Regions from separate parts of the Homo sapiens genome. Here regions 1 and 3 are each linked to region 2. Evidence: promoter capture Hi-C in human tissues and cell types (Jung and others, 2019). All regions are on one chromosome and are shown on one strand. The core of a region is centred on a gene start or on the middle of the fragment in contact, and the rest is flanking DNA. Distances in the headings are between cores, read along the strand shown. Region 1 overlaps OR1D2 (olfactory receptor family 1 subfamily D member 2). Region 2 holds the start of TAX1BP3 (Tax1 binding protein 3). Region 3 overlaps RAP1GAP2 (RAP1 GTPase activating protein 2).

What was found. The method cuts DNA at HindIII sites, captures the fragments that hold promoters and counts their contacts. A contact is called where the count stands out against the background at its distance.
Region 1: a fragment that was not itself captured here is called in contact with the fragment with the promoter of TAX1BP3 in region 2 in 4 of the 25 tissues and cell types used here (dorsolateral prefrontal cortex, liver, mesendoderm cells and 1 more).
Region 3: a contact is called between a fragment that was not itself captured here and the fragment with the promoter of TAX1BP3 in region 2, in 1 of the 25 tissues and cell types used here (spleen).

What each region holds. Positions count from the first base shown.
Region 1 is chr17:3,086,009-3,088,708 of GRCh38, forward strand. It overlaps OR1D2 (olfactory receptor family 1 subfamily D member 2), which reads right to left. Exons shown (of 2, transcript NM_002548.3): 2 at 2,476-2,700. Among named protein-coding and RNA genes, the nearest start is that of OR1D2, 17 kb to the right of the region's middle. The HindIII fragment of the contact is 7,207 bases long and covers 1-2,700 here.
Region 2 is chr17:3,667,193-3,669,892 of GRCh38, forward strand. It overlaps TAX1BP3 (Tax1 binding protein 3), which reads right to left and starts at 1,386. Exons shown (of 4, transcript NM_014604.4): 1 at 1,296-1,386. The coding sequence starts at 1,334. It overlaps EMC6 (ER membrane protein complex subunit 6), which reads left to right and starts at 1,620. Exons shown (of 2, transcript NM_031298.4): 1 at 1,620-1,707; 2 at 1,906-2,473. The coding sequence starts at 1,955. The coding sequence ends at 2,287. It overlaps P2RX5-TAX1BP3 (P2RX5-TAX1BP3 readthrough (NMD candidate)), which reads right to left. Exons shown (of 15, transcript NR_037928.1): 12 at 1,866-2,700. RefSeq lists enhancers at 180-711, 712-1,242, 1,775-2,305, 2,306-2,700 and a silencer at 1,334-1,673. The HindIII fragment of the contact is 19,427 bases long and covers 1-2,700 here.
Region 3 is chr17:3,010,268-3,012,967 of GRCh38, forward strand. The region is part of intron 17 of RAP1GAP2 (RAP1 GTPase activating protein 2); the gene reads left to right. Among named protein-coding and RNA genes, the nearest start is that of RAP1GAP2-AS1, 46 kb to the left of the region's middle. RefSeq lists an enhancer at 512-1,013. The HindIII fragment of the contact is 3,054 bases long and covers 1-2,700 here.

The DNA.
Region 1 (2,700 bases), core at 51-2,550, 580 kb before region 2:
TGTGATGTCCTTTCCTTGTTTTGGTATTAGAGTGATACTGGCTTCATAGAATGATTTAGGGAGAATTCCCTCTTTCTCTATCCTGTGTAATAGTGTCAATAGGATTGGTACCAATTCAACTGTGAATCTGTCTGGTCCTGGACTTTATTTTGTTGTCATTTTTTTCATTATCATTTCAATATCGCTGCTTATTGGTCTGTTCAGAGTTTCTATATCTTCCTAGTTTAATCTAGGGGGGTTGTACATTTTCAGGAATTTATCCATCTCCTGTAGGTTTTTCAGCTTGTGTGCATGAAGGTATTCATAGTAGCCTTGAATAATGTTTTGTATTTCTGTGGTATCAGTTGTAATATCTCCCACGTTTTTCTAATTGAGCTTATTTGAATTTTCTCTTATTTTCTTTGTTAATCTTGCCAATGGTCTATCAGTTTTTTTTTACCTTGTCAAAGAACCAGCTTCTTGTTTCATTTATGATTTTTATTTTTATTTTTCAATTTCCTTCAGTTCTCCTCTGATCTTTGTTATTTCTCTTTGTCTGCTGGGTTTGGGTTTGGTTTGTTCTTGTTTCTCTAGTTCCGTGAGGTGTGACCTTAGGTTGTCTATTTGTGCTCTTTTAGAATTCTTAATGTAATAATACTGTGAACTTTTCTCTTAGTACTACTTTTGCTGTATTCCAGAGATTTTGATAGGTTGTGTCCCTATTATCATTCATTTCAAAGAATTTTTAAGTTTTCCTGTTGATTTTGTTGTTGACCCAACAATCATTCAGGAGCAGGTTATTTAATTTCCATGTATTTGGATGGTTTTGTGGGTTCCTTTAGGAGTTGATTTCCAATTTTATTCCAGTGTGGTCTGAGAGAGTACTTGATATAATTTCAATTTTCTTAAATTGATTGAGACTTGTTTTGTGGCCCATGATATGGTCTATCTTTGAGAATGTTTCGTGTGCTGATAAGTAGAATGCATATTCTGCAATTGTTGGGTAGAATGTTCTATAAATATCTGTTAAGTTCATTTGTTCTAGGATATAGTTTAAGTCCATTGTTTCTTTGTTGACTTTCTGTCTTGATGATATGTCTAGTGCTAACAGTGGAGTATGGAATCCCCCACTATTATTGTGCTGTTGTCTATCTCATTTCTTAGGTCTAGTAGTAAATGTTTTATAAATTTGGCAGCTCCAGTGTTAGGTGCATATATATTTAGGATTGTGATGTTTTCCTTTTGTACTAGTCCTGTTATCATTATGTAGTGTCCGTCTTTGTCTTTTTTAACTGTTGTGGGTTTAATGTCTGTTTCGTCTAAGAATAGCTACTCCTGCTTGCTTTGGTGACCATTTGTATGGAATATCTTTTTCTACCTCTTTGCCTTAAGTTTATGTGAGTCCTTATGTGTTAGCTGAGTCTCTTGGGGATGGCAGGTACTAGGTTGGTGAATTCTTATCCATTCTACCATTCTGTATCTTTTAAGTGGAGTGTTTAGGCCATTTACATTCAACATTACTATTGAGATATGAGCTACTATTCTATTTGTCATGCTAATTGATGGCCTGAAGAGCTTGTTTTATTTTTCCATTTTGTTATTGTTTTATAGGTCCTGTGAGATTCATGCCTGAAGGAGGTTCTATTTTGGTGTATGTCAAGGGTTTGATTCAAGATTTAGAGCTCCTTTTACAAGTTCTTGTAGTGCTGGCTTGGTAGTGCCGAATTCTCTCAGCATTTGTTTGTCTGAAAAAGACTATCTCTCCTTCATTTATGAAGCTTAGTTTCATGGGATACAAAATTCTTGGCTGGTAATTGTTTTGTTTAAGGAGGCTAAAGATAGGACCCTAATCCCTTCTAGCTTGTAGGGTTTCTGCTGAGAAATCTGCCATTAACCTGATAGGTTTTTCTTTATACGTTACCTGATGCTTTTGCCTCACAGCTCTTAAGATTCTTCCCTTCATCTTGACTTTGGATAACCTGATGTCTATGTGCCTAGGTGATGATCTTTTTGTGATGAATTTCCCAGTTGTTCTTTCAGCTTCTTGCATTTGGATGTCTAAATGTCTCACAAGGCCAGGGAAGCTTTCCTCAATTATTCCCTCAAATATGTTTTCAAAACTTTCAGATTCCTCTTCTTCCTTGGGAACACCAGTCATTCTTAGGTTTGGCCATTTTACATAATCACAATCTTCTTGGAGGCTTTGTTCATTTTTTAAAATTCTGTTTTCTTTGTCTTTGATGGGTTGGGCTTTTGAAAGCCTTGTCTTTGAACTCTGAAGTTCTTTCTGCTACTTGTTTGTTTCTATTGCTGGGACTTTCCAGTGCATTTTACATCTCTCTAAATATGTCTTTCATTTCCAGAAGTTGTGATTGTTTTTTATTTATGCTATCTATTTCACTGAAGATTTTTGCTTTCATATCCTTCATATCCTGTATCTTTTTTAGCAGGAAGAGCTGCAGACCAAACTCCTCAGACACCAAGTTAAAGAAGGAAGGGGTTTATTTGGCCAGGAGCATCGGCAAGACTCCTGTCTCAAGAGCTGAGCTCCCCCAGTGAGCAATTCCTGTCCCTTTTAAGGGCTCACAACTCTAAGGGGGTCTGCGTGAGAGAGTCATGATCAATTGAGCAAGCAGGGGGTACGTGACTGGGGGCTGCATGCACCAGTAATCAGAACAAAACAGAACAGGACAGGGATTTTTACAATGCTTTTCCATACAA
Region 2 (2,700 bases), core at 136-2,635:
ATTAGCTGGGCATGCTGGTGCATGCCTGTAATCCCAGCTACTCGGGAGGCTGAGGCAGGAGAATCGCTTGAACCCAGGAGGCGGAGGTTGCAATGAACCGAGATCGCGCCACTGTACTCCAGCCTGGGCGACAGAGCAAGACTGTCTCAAAAAAAAAAAAAAAAAAAAAGTCAAGCTGGTGCAGGGAGGGTGAAGCTTAGGACAGCTGTCAGCTGGTCCAGCAATGTTTCCTCCTGGCCCAGGCCTGAGCCAGTGCTCTAAGCTCAGCCTCACTTGTCGCCTTTATCAGTGGCTTCTCTGCCTCCACCCACCTGATTGCTGGAGCTTCTCCAGCACACCCAACTGAGATAACACACCCAGTCCCTATGGCTCCAGGGCGGGGACTTTCGCTTGACCTACTGCCCACCGGGCAGGCATTTCTTCTCATTCTCTGAACGCTGTCGGGAGGTAGGCAGGAGACCTGAGTCTTTCCTGAGGTGGTCTTTTCTGGCTGAGCACTTCTCTCTGGGACTCCCCACCTCTGTCATAGGGTTGTGTCCCTCTGTGACACCGGCGTCTGAGTCTAACGTCCCAGCCTTCCTTCCTCCCTCTGCCTAGTCTAATAGCACCCAGCACCTAAAACAAGCCAGAGGGCGGCCAGGGGCCTAGGCTAGCCCCCGGAGGGTCTACTCAGGACTCAAGTGCCAGGAGGGAGGCCTGGACTTTTTTGCCTTAAGGGCTGGAGACCCAGGAAAAGTTCGAAGAGGAAACGCTCATCGCAGCTATACGAGCGTCCACCCTGGACCAGGCGGCGAGTGGGTTGGAGGAGCAAGGCTGGACAGGAAGGGGGCAGGGGCTGCCACGGCAGGCTCGGGAGAGCCCCACCCCCAGATCTCCCTCCGGGCGGCGGCGCAGGCTGCAGCGGAGGAAGCATTTCCTCATTCCAGAGGCTGCGACTCATGGACGTCGGGATCGGCGCCCGCCCCCAGCAGCTCCCCGTCTGGGGACACGGAGGCCCGGGAAGGGGGCGCTTTTCCAGGCTCCTGCAGCCAGGCCTTTCCCCGTGGCCCTCCCCGCCCTGCGCACGCAGTCTGGGCTCTGTCCAGGGTCTCGGGAGGCTCTCGGGTCCCGGCCATCCCTGTTTCGTGGCTGGGGGAACTGCGGCCCGCTCCGGCAAAGCGGGGACCCGAGCCCTTGCCGCCGGTTCGCAGGAGCCCCGGGTTCGATGCTCTGTCAACCTGCTTGGGGTGTCCGTTTCCCGCTCTGCGAGGTGGGGTCAGGCCAAGACGAGGAGGAGCCCGCGCAAGCGCACTCACCACCACGGCGGTGACCGGCTGGCCCGGGATGTAGGACATCTCGACCCTGCTCTGGTCGCCCAGCGCCGCTCCGAGAAGCCGGCAGCAGAGTACCCGCGGTCGCGCCCTCGCTGCTTAACAAAGGCCGCCCCGCTCGGCCCGCCCCCTCATGAATAGTTAACAAACCTCCAGCCAATCACTGGCCGGAGCGCCACTCCGCTTTCGGAAGTCCCTGCGCGTGCGCAGAAAAGCGGGCAGAGGGCGGAGCGTGTCCGGGGCGCCCACGGCGCAGGCGCGGAGGGCGGGGCGGGATCTGGGCGCGTGCGCAGCCCGAGACCTCCCGGCAGTCTTCCGAGCAAGATGGCGCCGCGGGCATTTCTTCCACTGCCCGTCTGAGGGAACGCTAAGTAGTGTGTCCGGCGCCGTGTTCCAGGTAACTGGGCCACCGTGGCCGGGGAACGCAGACGCGCCACCACCTCCCGGCCGGCCCGGACCCTCAATCTCCTCGGCGTCTTTGGAAGATCCGAGGCCCAGGACTGGTGCCAGGTCTCGGAAGCTCCAGGGGGAGGGGGCGGCGTGAACCCAACTCACCGAGCTCCGGGCGCCACTTGTAACTTGGTTTTCTCCGCAGCTCCGCGTTGTTCCGCGAGAAAGCGAGAGGCCGAGCCCGGGCTGGTGCGATGGCCGCGGTGGTGGCCAAGCGGGAAGGGCCGCCGTTCATCAGCGAGGCGGCCGTGCGGGGCAACGCCGCCGTCCTGGATTATTGCCGGACCTCGGTGTCAGCGCTGTCGGGGGCCACGGCCGGCATCCTCGGCCTCACCGGCCTCTACGGCTTCATCTTCTACCTGCTCGCCTCCGTCCTGCTCTCCCTGCTCCTCATTCTCAAGGCGGGAAGGAGGTGGAACAAATATTTCAAATCACGGAGACCTCTCTTTACAGGAGGCCTCATCGGGGGCCTCTTCACCTACGTCCTGTTCTGGACGTTCCTCTACGGCATGGTGCACGTCTACTGAAATGGGGGCCCGGGGGACTTTTTTAAAAAACCAGATCGGGAGGACTGTGGCCAGCAATTAACACCATGTAGACTTCCTTAGTTCTTAAGTGGTTGAATTCGCTGCTTGTTCTGTAACGTTATAAATAATTTATATCTGAAGACGGAGAGCCTGTAATATTCTTCAGATTAAATGAAGCGTGAGACACTTTGTGGAGTTCTTTCCTGCTGTAACGCTTAGGCTGCCACTGATGCAAAATCGCCGAGATTTGACTCCTGGAGAGCAAGGAATGGGCCATAGCCTTGTGTTAAGTCCTTGTATTTACACATAGGCCATTCAGAAACGGGCCCTAAGGGCCTACATAAGGAAAGAACTTATTAACATCCTAAGAAGCAGTAACAGTTAATATGTATTAAGAGCTCCCTGGGCCGGGC
Region 3 (2,700 bases), core at 104-2,603, 660 kb before region 2:
AGGCGGAGGTTGCAGTGAGCCGAGATCACGCCACTGCACTCCAGCCTGGAGACAGGGCGAGACTGTCTCAAAAAAAAAAAAAAAAAAAAAAAAGAAAAGTTGAGCTGCAGTTGGGGAGCCAACATAATGTTGTATTTTGTAGACATTTAATGAAGCACTTGTTTTGAGTTTTGCAGGTTTCTTGTAGTATTTTGGAGTTAATTGGTTTTTCAGGTTTCAAGTATTTCTATATCCTGGAGATGCTTGTAGGCTGTGGACACTCTGCCCATGGTGCCCAATGGAGGAGGTGGTCCAGCAGCTAAATACAGGTGGCAGGTATAAAGAGAGTGGCCTGAGGCCGCTCTGTCCAGTCCCCCGCCTCTGGCAGGAGTCGCAGTTGATCTGTGCTTGACTCGAGGGGGTCTGACGTATTCCTAGAGGGGCTTACAAGAGAGGAAACACTTTAAGACTTTATCACGACTCATCTTTGATCCAGTGATCCAGGGAATTCTTTTCAATACTAAAACCCTGCAACTGTAGGTTGAAGACAGGCCTGCTTCCAGATTCTGCTCTCACACCTACCTGAGGTAGCACCGTGGGGCGTGGGAGAGACTGTGACAGTCACACAGAGTAAGCTTCAGGGCCCTGACGGTTGTGACCAGATTTTTTTTAAATTTTTTTATTTTTTAATTTTTTTTGAGGCAGGGTCTTGCTTTGTCACCCAGGCTGGAGTGCAGTGGTGCAATCTTGGCTCACTGCAACCTCTGCCTCCCGGGTTCAAGTGATTATCCTACCTCAGCCTCCTGAGTAGCTAGAATTATAGGTGCCCGCCACCACGCCCGGCTAACTTTTTGTATTTTTAGTAGAGACGAGGTTTCACCATGTTGGCCAGGCTGGTCTCGAACTCCTGACCTCAGGTGATCCGCCCACCTCAGCCTCACAAAGTGCTGGGATTACAGGTGTGAGCCACCGCGCCCGGCCATTTGTGACCAGCTTTTTTCCCTCCCACCTGGGGAGCACGAGCTCCTGTTCCCTGTCCCTTTCGTCATTGCCCTCACATCTCCCAAGCATGGAGGCCTGAGCTGGGGACAGGCCAGGCTCAGCCGAATGGAGCCCTGGGGCCTGGGGTGGATTCTGGTGTTTAGGCCATGCCTGTGGCCAGGCCTGTGTGTCTGGCCCAGCTCAGGAAACCATCCCTAGTTTTGGTATTTTTTTTTCCTGGGCACCTTGGGCGGTGCTGCTGTGTCAACAGGACGTTGCTTAGGGAGTTCACCCACACCTTCCTGGGATCGCTCTTGAAACAAGTGATACCTGAAATGTTCCAGGAAGAAAAGTTACAGGCCTTTATCTCTTCCTGTCAAAGTTTTTTTTTTTTTTTTTTTTTGAGATGGAGTTTTGCTCTTGTTGCCCAGGCTCAGGCTGGAGTGCAGTGGTGCGACCTCGGCTCACTGCAACCTCTGCCTCCCGGGCTCAAGCGATTCTCCTGCCTCAGCCTCCCGAGTAGCTGGGATTACAGGTGCCCGCCACCACACATGGCTAAATTTTTTGTATTTTTAGTAGGGACACCATCTTGGTCAGGCTGATCTTGAACTCCTGACATCAGGTGATCCGCCCATCTTGGCCTCCCAAAGTGCTGGGATTACAGGCGTGAGGCACTGCGCCCGGCCTCCTTCCTGTCAAAGTTCTCATTTCCCAGGCTGATGGGAGCATAACTGAGAATCCCCAGGGCTGAAAGCCATCTCAGCCATCCATCCTTGCCCCTGGTGAGGCTGCTGCTCCCCCACGTCAGCACTGACCCTTGATCTTTCTCCTGAGCAGCAGGCCTGCCATTGCCCTGTGTTGTGCCGCCTGGCACCTCACCCCGCTTGGAGCAGTTCCTTACAGCTCACTTCTGTCCTCCCAGCTGTAATGGAAGCGTTTCTCCCATGAGACACAGAACAGTTGGCTTTTGGACATCTAGACCTACTTTTCAAGCTGAACTGCTTGGAGATAGTCTCAGGAATCTGCTGGTTCTACAAACACTTCTAAAGTTTGCATTTTCACTTAGATCTAAAAAAAAAAACCTTCCAATTATAAAGACTGAACGTTTGGCTGGGCGCGGTGGCTCACGTCTGTAATCCCAGCACTTTGGGAGGCCGAGGCAGGTGGATCACCTGAGGTCAGGAGTTCGAGACCAGCCTGGCCAACGTGGTGAAACCCTGTCTCTACTAAAAATACAAAAATCAGATGGGCGTGGTGGTGCACACCTGTAATCCCAGCTACTTGGGAGGCTGGGGCAGGAGAATTGCTCAAACCTGGGAGGTGGAGGTTGCAGTGAGCTGAGATTGCGCCACTGCACAGCAGATCCAGACTGTGTCTCAAAAAAAAAAAAAAAAAAAAAAAAAACAAACCTAAAGTTTGCAGTGATCACTCCAAATTAAGAGATGTTCCTATAGGGTAAATAGGTAAGGCCTGAAGTCAGCACTGCATACGCAGCCCATGGGGCCACTGGGGTTGGGGGTCTGTGAGCAGATTCTCGGGAGTCTTGCGAGAACAGCTTTCACGATGAAAGAGCTGTACGTTATGTTTGAACGATGCTGATCTCTAGACCATTTTCCAGTGCCATTCTCAGTTACTGCCAGCTGTTGATGAGGTTGTTATTGGTCCGTAATGCAATGAAAAGTGATGATACTTGCTGTACCGACGTCAGATGGACGTAGAGCACGTGCAGGCCACATTTTG